Linked DNA regions of Homo sapiens: region 2 is linked to region 1. The links are contacts of gene promoters, found by promoter capture Hi-C in human tissues and cell types (Jung and others, 2019). All regions are on one chromosome and are shown on one strand. Each heading gives the region's core, a stretch centred on a gene start or on the middle of the fragment in contact. The rest is flanking DNA. Distances are from core to core; before and after follow the strand shown. Region 1 holds the start of LAT2 (linker for activation of T cells family member 2). Region 2 overlaps GTF2IRD1 (GTF2I repeat domain containing 1).

Region 1 (5,365 bases), core at 1,972-4,471:
GAATTGCTTGAACCAAGGAGGTGGAGGTTGCAGTGAGCTGAGATCACGCCACTGCACTCCATCCAGCCTGGGCAACAAGAGCGAAACTCTATCTCAATAATAATAATAATAATAATGGAGGAGCTCCAGGCTGCCTACCTCCTGCCTTGGGATCCCCCTGAGGTCCACCAGGACCTGGGCTGTCCCCCTTGAAAGCTGTGTGGCTTTGGACAAGTCTCAGGACCTCTCTGGACTTCCCAAATCCCTGCGGTAAGATGACAGGGAATCTCCATGCGGCCCTGAGCCTCTGTAAGAGGCGCATCACAGAGAAGCCACCAGGCCTCTCCCCAAAAGCCAAGTGAGTCAGTGGGAACAAGTGAATTTCTGAGCCGTGTGACTGGCACGACCCACGTCACCCCGGGAGGTTGTCCGAGGAAAGCTCTGCTCTCTCTTCCCCATGGCCCGCCTGGGCACTGCCCTTCTCCCTCCTCGAAACTCTCCTTGCCTCAGTGCCCCCAACCCGGGGTGTACCCCCAACCCCTCCAGCATGGCCCAAGTTCATCTCAGGCTTGTGAGGTTGGAGCAACTTGTCTTGCAGGAGGGCTCATGGGACCAAATCTAGCCTCTGCCTGAGAGCCCCCCGCCTCAGTTTTCTCATCTATAAAATGAGGTCGGGCTGGGTACAGGGACTCACACCTGTAATCCCAATACTTTGGGAGGCTGAGACAGGAGGATCACTTGAGTTTGAGACCAGCTTGGCCAACATGGTGAAACCCTGTTTCTACTAGAAATACAAAAATTAGCCAGGCGTGGAGGTGCAAGCCTGTAATTCCAGCTACTTGGGAGGCTGAGGCATGAGAATCACTTGAACTCAGGAGGCAGTGAGTTGCAGTGAGCTGAGATCACGCCAGTGCACTCCAGCATGGGAGACAGAGTGAGACTCCATCTCAAAATAATAATAATAATAATAATAAATTAAATAAATGAATAAATAAAATGGGATCAGGCTGGGCGTGGTGGCTGACGCCTGTAATCTCAACACTGGGAGGCCGAGACAGGAGGATCGCTTGAGGCCAGGAGTTCGAGACCAGCATGGACGATGTAACAAGGCCCTGTCTCTACAAAAAAATGAAAAAATTAGGCAGGCGCAGTGGCACATGCCTGTGGTTCCAGCTACTTGGGACACTGAGGCAAGAGAATTGCTTGAGCCCAGGAGTTGGAAGCTGCAGTGAGCCAAGATCACACCACTGAACTCCAGCCTGGGTGACAGAGCAAGACCCCATCTCTAAAAACAAAAAATGAAATTTAACAAACAGTCATGTGTCTGCCCCCAGACTGAATACATCCTGCGCTGTTGGCCGGGTGCGGTAGTTCACACCTGTAATCCCAACACTTTGGGAGGCTGAGGCGGGCAAATCATCTGAGGTCAGGAGTTCAAGACCAGCCTGGCCAACATGGTGAAACCCTGTCTCTACTAAAAATAAAAAATTAGGCCAGGCACGGTGGCTCACACCTGTAATCCCAGCACTTTGGGAGGCCGAGGCAGGCAGATCACAAAGTCAGGAGATTGAGACCATCCTGGCTAACATGGCGAAACCCCGTCTCTACTAAAAATACAAAAAATTAGCCGGTCGTGGTGGCAGGCGCCTCTAGTCTCAGCTACTCGGGAGGCTGAGGCAGGAGAATGGCATGTACCCGGGAGGTGGAGCTTGCAGTGAGCCAAGATTGCACCACTGCACTCCCAGCCTGGGAGACAGAGCAAGACTGTCTCCAAAAAATAAAAAATAAATAAAAAATAAAAAATTAGCCAGGTGTGGTAGCACGTGCCTGTAGTCCCCAGCTACTTGGAAGGGTAAGGCAGGAGAACTGCTTGAACCTGGGAGGTGGAGGTTGCAGTGAGCCGAGATCACGCCACTGCACTCCAGCCTGGACAACAGAGTGAGACTCCGTTTAAAAAAATTCTGTGCTCTCTCTCTGTCTCTGTCTCCCTTTGTGTCTCTGTCTCGCTCTCACTTTCACTCTCCCATCCAGGTTCTGAAAGCAGGTGGGCTGAGGTGGAGGGAGCGGAGGGTGGACCCTCTGAGGCCCCCAGGGGCCGGCAGGGCTGGGCGGGGTGGGGAGTGGGGGCTGCCACAGACCACGGTTCTGCAGAGGCCAAAATAGCACTAAAGGGAAGTGGGCAGTTTTCATATGAACAACGATTGCCAAGAGCTGGCTTCGGGGAAGTTCTCGGGGCTGGGCTGGAGGAGCTACAGTGTCTGAATCCCGCCTGGAAGGACGCTCGAGACCACCCTGCCGGTTCTCCCAGCCTTCTCCGAGCTGAGCTGTGGTTGGGGACACTGGGGTTGGGGAGGGGGCAGCCTGGCTTGAAGCCCTGGATGGCTTTATCCACTGGACTCTGCTCTGGGGTCTGTTGGTTTTTTCATTTAGTTTTTAATTATATTTTTTTATTTTTATTTTTTAAAGAGATGGGAGTCTCACTATGTTGCTCAGGCTGGTCTCCAGCTCCTGACTTCAAATGATCCTCCCGCCTTGGCCTCCCCAAATGCTGGGATTACAGGTTGAGCCACCGTGCCCGGCTGGTCCTGTTGCTTTTTCCAAATAACTCTGGGCTTCAAATGAGCCTAGCTGGGAGGGAGAGAGGGAGGCGGGCGGGTGCAGGAGGGGCCTGAGCAGCCCTGGTCCCAGGGACAGAGTTGAGGGCCAGGTAGGGGGCTGGGCAGGGAGGCAGTGGGGGTTCTTCACCTGACCTGGGGCAAGACCTGGGCCCTGGCCTGTAATCCCACCGTTTTCCCCTGACCTGTGTAGGGGGTTACAGTCCCATTTCACGGATGAGGAAACCGAGGCTCCCAGGCCAGGGCAGCCACTGTTTTGGCTCTCGGCCACTTACTTCACCAGTCTCTGGCAATGATGGGACCACCCTGGGATGTCCCAAGGCTACACAGGCTGGACAGGGGAAGGCGAGGGCAAGAGAGTGGCCAGAAGCCCAGAAACAAACTGACCCCTGAAGTGCCACAGAGCCTGGTGCCAGGGTGAGAGTGGGGCTGCGGGAGGGGGCGCCAGGCATCCAGGCCTCTTCCCACCCCACCCAGTGGGGCCAGGAGCTCCTGGGGGATGGGGGACAGCCTGAGGACTGAGGCACCCCTGGGAAAGGCTTACCTGAGAGTCCAGGGTTCCTCACCACGGCCGCCCCATCCTGAGCCCGCACACCTGCCCAAGCTGATGCCAACACCACTGACACTGGCGGGCGGGCAGGGCGGGCTTCCTGCCAGCCACTGAATCATCCGTACATCCGCCGCACTGCCGGACAGGCTCAGCTATGAAGAGGGCGGTGGGGGGAAGGGAGGGGAGACGGGGGAAGGAGGCGGGAGAGAGAGAGAGAAGAGAAACAAAGTGAGAGGGAGAAAGAGAAGAAAGAGAGATAGGACCGGGCGAGGTGGCTCACACCTGTAATCCAAAAACTTTGGGAGGCCGAGGCGGGTGGATCACGTAAGGTCAAGAGTTTAAGACCAGCCTGGCCAACATGGTGAAACCCCGTCTCTATTAAAAATACAAAATTAGCTGGGCATGGTGGCATGTGTCTGTAATTCCAGCTACTCGGGAGGCTGAGGCAGGAGAATCGTTTGAACCTCAGAAGCAGAGGTTGCAGTGAGCCGAGATCGCACCACTGCACTCCAGCCTGGGTGACAGAGGGAGACTCCGTCTCAAAAAACAGAAAGAAAAAGAGAGAGACACAGCAGAGAGACACAAGAGAACAGGAAAATATGGACACACACTAAACACACACATAAACACAAAAAGTCACACAGAGAGGAAGAGAGATACACTCCAATAGACAGGGAGCAAGATAATGAAACTGAGGTGCTCCTGCAGATGGCAGATATGGAGACACACATACGCTAAAAAGACACACACAGGCAGAAATTCACACCCATGGGCCGGGCGCGGTGGCTCATGCCTGTAATCCCAGCACTTTGGGAGGCCAAGGCAGGCAGGTCATGAAGTCAGGGGTTCAAAACCAGCCTGACCAACATGGTGAAACCCCATATCTACCAAAAATACAAAAATTATCTGGGTGTGGTGGCGGGTGCCTGTAATCCCAGCTACTCGGGAGGCTGAGGCAGGAGAATTGCTTGAACCCAGGAGGTGGAGGTTGCAGTGAGCCAAGATAGCGCCACTGCACTCCAGCCTGGGTGACAGAGCAAGACTTCATCTCAAAAAAAAAAAAAAAAAGAAGAAGACACACACAGGCAGAAATTCATACCCATGGGCCAGGCACGGTGGCTCATGCCTGTAATCCCAACACTTTGGGAGGCTGAAGCAGGAGAATCACCTGAGGTCTGGAGTTCAAGACCAGCCTGGCCAACATGGTGAAACCCCATCTCTACAAAAAATTTAAAAATTAGCTGGGCATGAGATGGACCAAGACACACACAGAGAGACACACAGAAAGATACAGAGAGCCACAGACTGTCAGAGACACACACAGATGGGGAGAGAGCAAGAAACAGGGAGATAGAGGCCAGGTGCAGTGGCTTGCACCTGCAATCCTAACATTTTTGGAGGCTGAGGCAGGAGGATCGCTTGAGAACAGGAATTTGAGACCAGCCTGGACAACAGAACGAGACCCCATCTCTAAAAAAATTTTTTTAATTAGCTGGGTGTGGTGGCACACACCTGTAGTCCCAGTGTTTTGGGAGGCCAAAACGGGAGGATTTCTTGAGCCCAAGAGTTGGAGGCTGCAGTGAGCCGTGACTCTGCCACTGCACTCCAGCCTGGGGGACAGCAAGACCCTGTCTGTCTGTAAAAACAATAAATAGGCCGGGCGTGGTGGCTCACATCTGTAATCCCAGCACTTTGGGAGGCCAAGGCAGGTGGATCACCTTATTTAGGTCGGGAGTTTGAGACCAGCCTGGCCAAAATGGTGAAACCCCATCTCTACTAAAAATACAAAAATTTGCCGGGTGTGATGGTGGGTGCCTGTAATCCCAGCTACTTGGGAGGCTGAGGCAGGAGAATCACTTGAGCCCAGAAGGCGGAGTTTGCAGTGAGCCAAGATCGTGCCACTGCACTACAGCCTGGACAACAGAGCGAGACTCCATCTCAAAAAAACAAAACAAAAACAAAAAAACCCAAAAAACACAACAAAAAAATTTAAAATAATAATAATTATTATTTAATTAATAGCTCAATGGCCTTGGGCAGCTGTTTAATGGTCAATAGCACAAGGCAGTCCACCCACTTGTGGGATGTGGCTTTATTGACCTCAGGTGCCAGAGCATCCTGGCCTCCACAGGGAACTATCTCACTCGGTCCTCATGTCTGTGTGGATGGCAGCCACGGTGTCCACCCCAGGGCTGGGCACAGGAGCACCGCTGGGCAGGAG
Region 2 (5,365 bases), core at 1,603-4,102, 290 kb before region 1:
AATCTGGCCCAGGGGCTCGGCCATGACGACTCTCGCTGGCATGGGCTCAGTAGAGCTCAAGGACCGCCCCCTCCGGAGGGAAGAGACGGAAGGAGTCACAGGGCTGTTTCCCAAATGCCGGGACCAGTTTAATTCTCACAAGCTCTCATTTTACAGAGGAGGAATTCCCACCTGAAGACCCCACCACAAGGATGTCGCAAAGCTGAAACCTGAGCTCGGGTCATACCAACTAAATCCGGGTTCCCATCACCCCACAACGCAGCCTTCAAGCCCCTTCCCCCGTGGAATGATGACACAGCGGTGGGCTCGGCTCTGCACTGCCCAACCCTGCCCGGCAGTGAACAGGCGAGACCACCCAGCTGGGACCCAGGGAAGAGGCAAAGAGGAGACCCCTCAGCAGGGTCCGTTTCTCCTGCCTGGGCTTGTCCTGCACCCAGGACCAATGTGGCCCTACAGGACAGCTAGAACCCTCCCCTCCTCTTCTCCCCAAGTGTCCCCAGAGCTTCAGAAAAGTGTGTGCTTAAAGGACGATTCAATGAAATAATTTTCTAAAAAGAGAATAAATACATACATACATAAAGAAGCAGGAGTGTACCAGCCTGGGCAACATAGCAAGACCCCACCTCTACAAAAATAAAAAAAATTAGCCAGGTGTGGTGGTCCACACCTGTGGTCCCAGCTACTCAGGAGGCTGAGGCAGGAGGATCACTTGAGCCCAGGAGTTCGAGGCTACAGAGAACTGTGATCATGCCGTTGCACTCCAGCCTGGGCGACAGAGCAAGACCCTGCCTCCAAAAATAAAAAATTTAAAAAAGGAAGCATCAATGTGTGTCTGTGTGTCAGAGCATGCAAATGCGACGGGTGTGCGTGTATGAGACAGAAAAGACCACACACGTGATGCAAAGAATGAGGACAGTAAAGAAAGGGACACACACACACACACATACACGAACAACCTCAGCCAGGGTGACACTGAGAGGCCTGGCCCGCTGGCTGGGGAGGGTCACTTGTCTGCACTGGCTTGGGGTTGAACCAAAAAAACAAATGTCACAGCTCTCCAACTGGCACACCCATCACCCCACCAAATTTTTTTTCTTTTTTTTTTTTTTTAACAAAACAGATAGGGTCTCACTATGTTTCCCAGGCTGGTCTCAAACTCCCGAGCCCAAGCGATCCACCCACCTTGGCCTCCCTCCCAAAGTGCTAGGATTACAGGCGAGAGCCACCACGTTAGGCCTACCAAATTTTCAGAAAAGCACCATGAGGTGGTTCTTCTAATCCATGTTACATCTGGGGAGGCTAAGGCTCGGGAGGGGAAGCGTGCTGCTCAAGGTCATTTGTGGCAGCGGTTCAAGGTCATTTGTGACACTTGATGGGTCGCCTGTGAGCCAGCTCAGCCCAAGCCCAAGCCCTTACACCATGCACCAGCATGTCCAGGCCTCTCAACGGCAGGGGCACACATGGGGGCTCCCTCATCTGGGGATCTCTCAGGCTTTTTTCACTCTCCACAAGTGGCAGGTTCATTCACTCATTCCTCTGTGTGTGCATTCATTCACTAATTCCTTGATGTGTACATTCATTCCTTTGTGTGTATTCATTCACTCATTCCTGTGTGTGTGCATTCATTGACTAATTCCTTGGTGTGTACATTCACTCATTCATTCCTTTGTGTGCATTCATTCATTCACTAATTACTTGGTGTGCACATTCATTCTTTCTTTCGTGTGCATTCATTCACTCACTCATTCCTTGGTGTGAACACTCATTCATTCCTTGGTGTATGCATTCATTCATCCCTTGGTGTGTGCATTAATTCCTTTGTGTGTATGCATTCATTCATGTGTGCATTCATTCATTCATTTCTTGGTGTGTGCATTCATTCATTCCTTGGTGTGTGCATGCATTCCTTTGTGTACATTCATTAATTCCTTTGTGTGCATTCATTTATTCTTTAGTGTGTGCATTCATTCATCCATTCCTTGGTGTGTGCATTCATTCCTTTGTGTATATGCATTCATTCATTCCTTGATGTATGCATTCATTCATTGCTCCCTTCCTTCCTTCCTTCTTTCCTTCCTTCCTTCTCTCTCTCCCTCCCCCACTCCCTTCTCTTCCTTCCTTCCTTCCTTCCCTTCCTCCCTTCCTTGCACACTTTTGAACCCTCAGGGTGATACTCATTCCCTGTGCTTATTGGCTCCCGCCTAGGTCATACTGGGTAAGAACAGTGAGGACACCTCCGCCGGGCCATTGGCTGGGACCTAGTCCAAGGCAGTGAGCTGTAAGTGGGGAGGGGCCACCCTGCAAGAGCTCAGCAGGAGCTGGAGACCTGGTAGGTCGTGGCAAGGCTGGGAGTGGGAGGAACACAGCCTGGGTGCCTTCCGTGGCCTCCCCTCACCACCCCTACTCATTCACTCAACACCTACCAAGAGGCTGCTCTGTGCCAGGCTCCGCCTGCCCTCCTCCAGCTCACAGGGCCAGTGTGTCCAGAGAGAATTACAGGACCAGGCTGGGTGCGATGGCTCATGCCTGTAATCCCAGCACTTTGGGAGGCAGAGGTGGGAGGATCACTTGAGGTCAGGAGTTTGAGACCAGCCTGGCCAACATGGTGAAACCCCATCTCTACTAAAAATACAAAAAATTAGCTGGGGGTGGTGGTACACGCCTATAGTCCCAGCTACTAGGGAGGCCGAGGCAGGAGAATTGCTAGAACCTGGGAGTTGGAGGTTGCAGTGAGCTGAGATCTTGCCACTGCACTCCAGCCTGGGTGAAAGAGTGAGAGTCCATCTTATTTAAAAAAAAAAAAAAGAACTACAGGACCACGAAAGAAGGACAAGCAGAGAAGCTCGCGCAGGCACAGAGCTTGACAATGGGGAAAGGGGTTACCTATGTTTTATTTAAATGTTTTATTTACTTAGTTTTGGGGGAGGAGGGGCCTGACAAATAAGGCTTCCCTGAGTTGATGACTGTTGAGGTGGGTTTTCAAGAGTGAATAGGAGTTCTCTGGGTACAGGAGTGGAAGGATAATACCCTGTTGTTTCCACAGAGAGAAGCAAGGGAAGAAGCTTGGTTTAGAGATATACAACCTTTGCTCTATGAGTAAAGAGAAGTTTTGGACAGAATCAATGGAATAAAAAGGCAAACCACAGAATGGGTGAAAATATTTGTAAATAGTATATCGGTAAGGGATTAATATCCAGGATATGCAGACACCTCCTAAAACTCAACAACTAAGACTGGATGCAGTGGTTCATGCCTGTAATCCCAGCACTTTGGGAGGCCAAGGTGAGAGGATAACTTGAGGCCAGGAGCTCGAGACCAGCCTGGGCAACAGAGCGAGACATCATCTCCATTAATAATAATAATCCAATTAAAAAATAGGCAAATGACTTGAGTAAACCTTTCCCCTAAGAAGATATACAAATGGCCATAAAACAGATGAAAAGATGTCCAACATCACTAAAGATTAGCAAAATGCAAATCTAAACTCCACCTCACACCCACCAGGATACCTACTATAAAAAACACAAGAAAGCGGGGCGCGGTGGCTCATGCCTGTAATCCCAGCACTTTGGGAGGCCAAGGCAGGCGGATCATCTAAGGTCAGGAGTTCGAGACCAGCCTGACCAACATGGTGAAACCCATCTCCACTAAAATTACAAAAATTAGCCGGGCATGGTGGCACATGCCTGTAATCCCAGCTACTTGGGAGGCTGAGGCAGGAGAATTGCTTGAACCCAGGAGGCGGAGGTTGCAGTGAGCTGACATCATGCCATTGCACTCCAGGCGGGGCAACAAGAGTGAAACTCTGTCTAAAACAAAAACAAACAAAACAAACAAAACCACACACAGGAAAAAAACAAGAGCTGGTGAGAACGTGGGGAAATTGGAACCCTGTGTGCTGCTGGTAGGGATGCAAAATGGTACAGGCACTGTGGAAAACAGCATGGCGGTTCCTCAAAAAATTAAAAATAGGACTACCAGCCAGGTCCAGTAGCTCAGGCCTGTAATCCCAGCACTTTGGGAGGCTGAGGCAGGAGGATTGCTTGAGCTCAGGAGTTTGAGACCAGCCTGGCAAGATTCCATCTCTACAGAAAATACAAAAATTAGCTGGGTGTGGTGGTGCACACCTGTAGTCCCAGCTACTTGGGAAGCTGAGGCGGGAGGATGGCTTGAGCCTGCGGAGGTTGGGGCTGCAGTGAGGTGTGACTGTGCAACTGCACTCCACGTTTCCGCTCTTGCAAATAATGCTGCTATTAACATGAGTATGCAAATCACTTGGTAAACCTGTTTTCAATGATTTGGGGTATATACCCAGAGGTGGAACTGTTGAATTGTATAGTAGTTCTGTTTTTATATTTTATTTTATTTTATTTAGAAAGAGTCTCACTCTGTTGCCCAGGCTGGATTGCAGTGGTGTGATCATAGCTCACTGCAGCCTCAAATTCCTGGGTTCAAGCCATCTTCCCACCTCAGCCTTCCAAGCAGCTGGGACTACAGGTGTGCACCGCCATGCCTGGCTAATTTTAAATTTTTTTGTAGAGATGGGGTCTTGCTATGTTGCCCAGGCTGGCCTTGAACACCTGGCCTCAAACAATCCTCCCACCTCAGCCTCCCAACCTGCTGGGATTATAGGCATAAGCCACCATGCCTGGCCTTAATAGAATTTTTCAAAATGGGGGGAGGGGGGAAGAGAGGAAGTGTTTGGTTGTTCTCATTGTCCACTGTCGAGTGTCGTTCCTAAGACTAGAGAGGACACTCAGTGACCTTTGCTGGAATGGAGTGGAGAGAGGGAGGGGGCACCTAACAAGCACATCTCTGCCCCAGAGGTAAGTGTGAGCACTAGCAAGTCAACACACACATGCATGCACACTCACACACACACCCACACGCACACATACATGCACACCCACACGCACACCCACATACATGCACACCCACACCCACCCACACACATGCACACCCACACATGTACACCCCCCAAACGCACACACCCACACATACATGCACACCCACACACGCACACCCACATGAACACACACACACACACATACGTGCACACCCACATGAACACACATGCACACCCACACTCAAATGCATACACACATGCACACACATTGACACCCACATGCACACACACCCACATATATCACACACATATATGCACACACACATGCACCCACACACACATGCACATACATGCACACCCCCATGCACACCCCCACCCCCACACACATGCACACCCACATACACACGCATACCCACTCACATGCATACACACATATGCAGACACCCACACACGCATGCACACCCACATGCAGACACCCCATACACATACGCACGCATAGCCACTCACATGCATACACAC

Evidence for each region. The method cuts DNA at HindIII sites, captures the fragments that hold promoters and counts their contacts. A contact is called where the count stands out against the background at its distance.
Region 2: a contact is called between a fragment that was not itself captured here and the fragment with the promoter of LAT2 in region 1, in 1 of the 25 tissues and cell types used here (IMR-90 fibroblasts).

Annotation. Positions count from the first base shown.
Region 1 is chr7:74,207,862-74,213,226 of GRCh38, reverse strand. It overlaps LAT2 (linker for activation of T cells family member 2), which reads right to left and starts at 3,221. Exons shown (of 14, transcript NM_032464.3): 1 at 3,139-3,221. RefSeq lists enhancers at 148-207, 338-417, 2,288-2,407, 3,628-3,737 and silencers at 2,098-2,187, 3,298-3,347. The HindIII fragment of the contact is 33,709 bases long and covers 1-5,365 here.
Region 2 is chr7:74,496,169-74,501,533 of GRCh38, reverse strand. All of the region lies in intron 1 of GTF2IRD1 (GTF2I repeat domain containing 1), which reads right to left. Among named protein-coding and RNA genes, the nearest start is that of WBSCR23, 34 kb to the left of the region's middle. The HindIII fragment of the contact is 8,291 bases long and covers 1-5,365 here.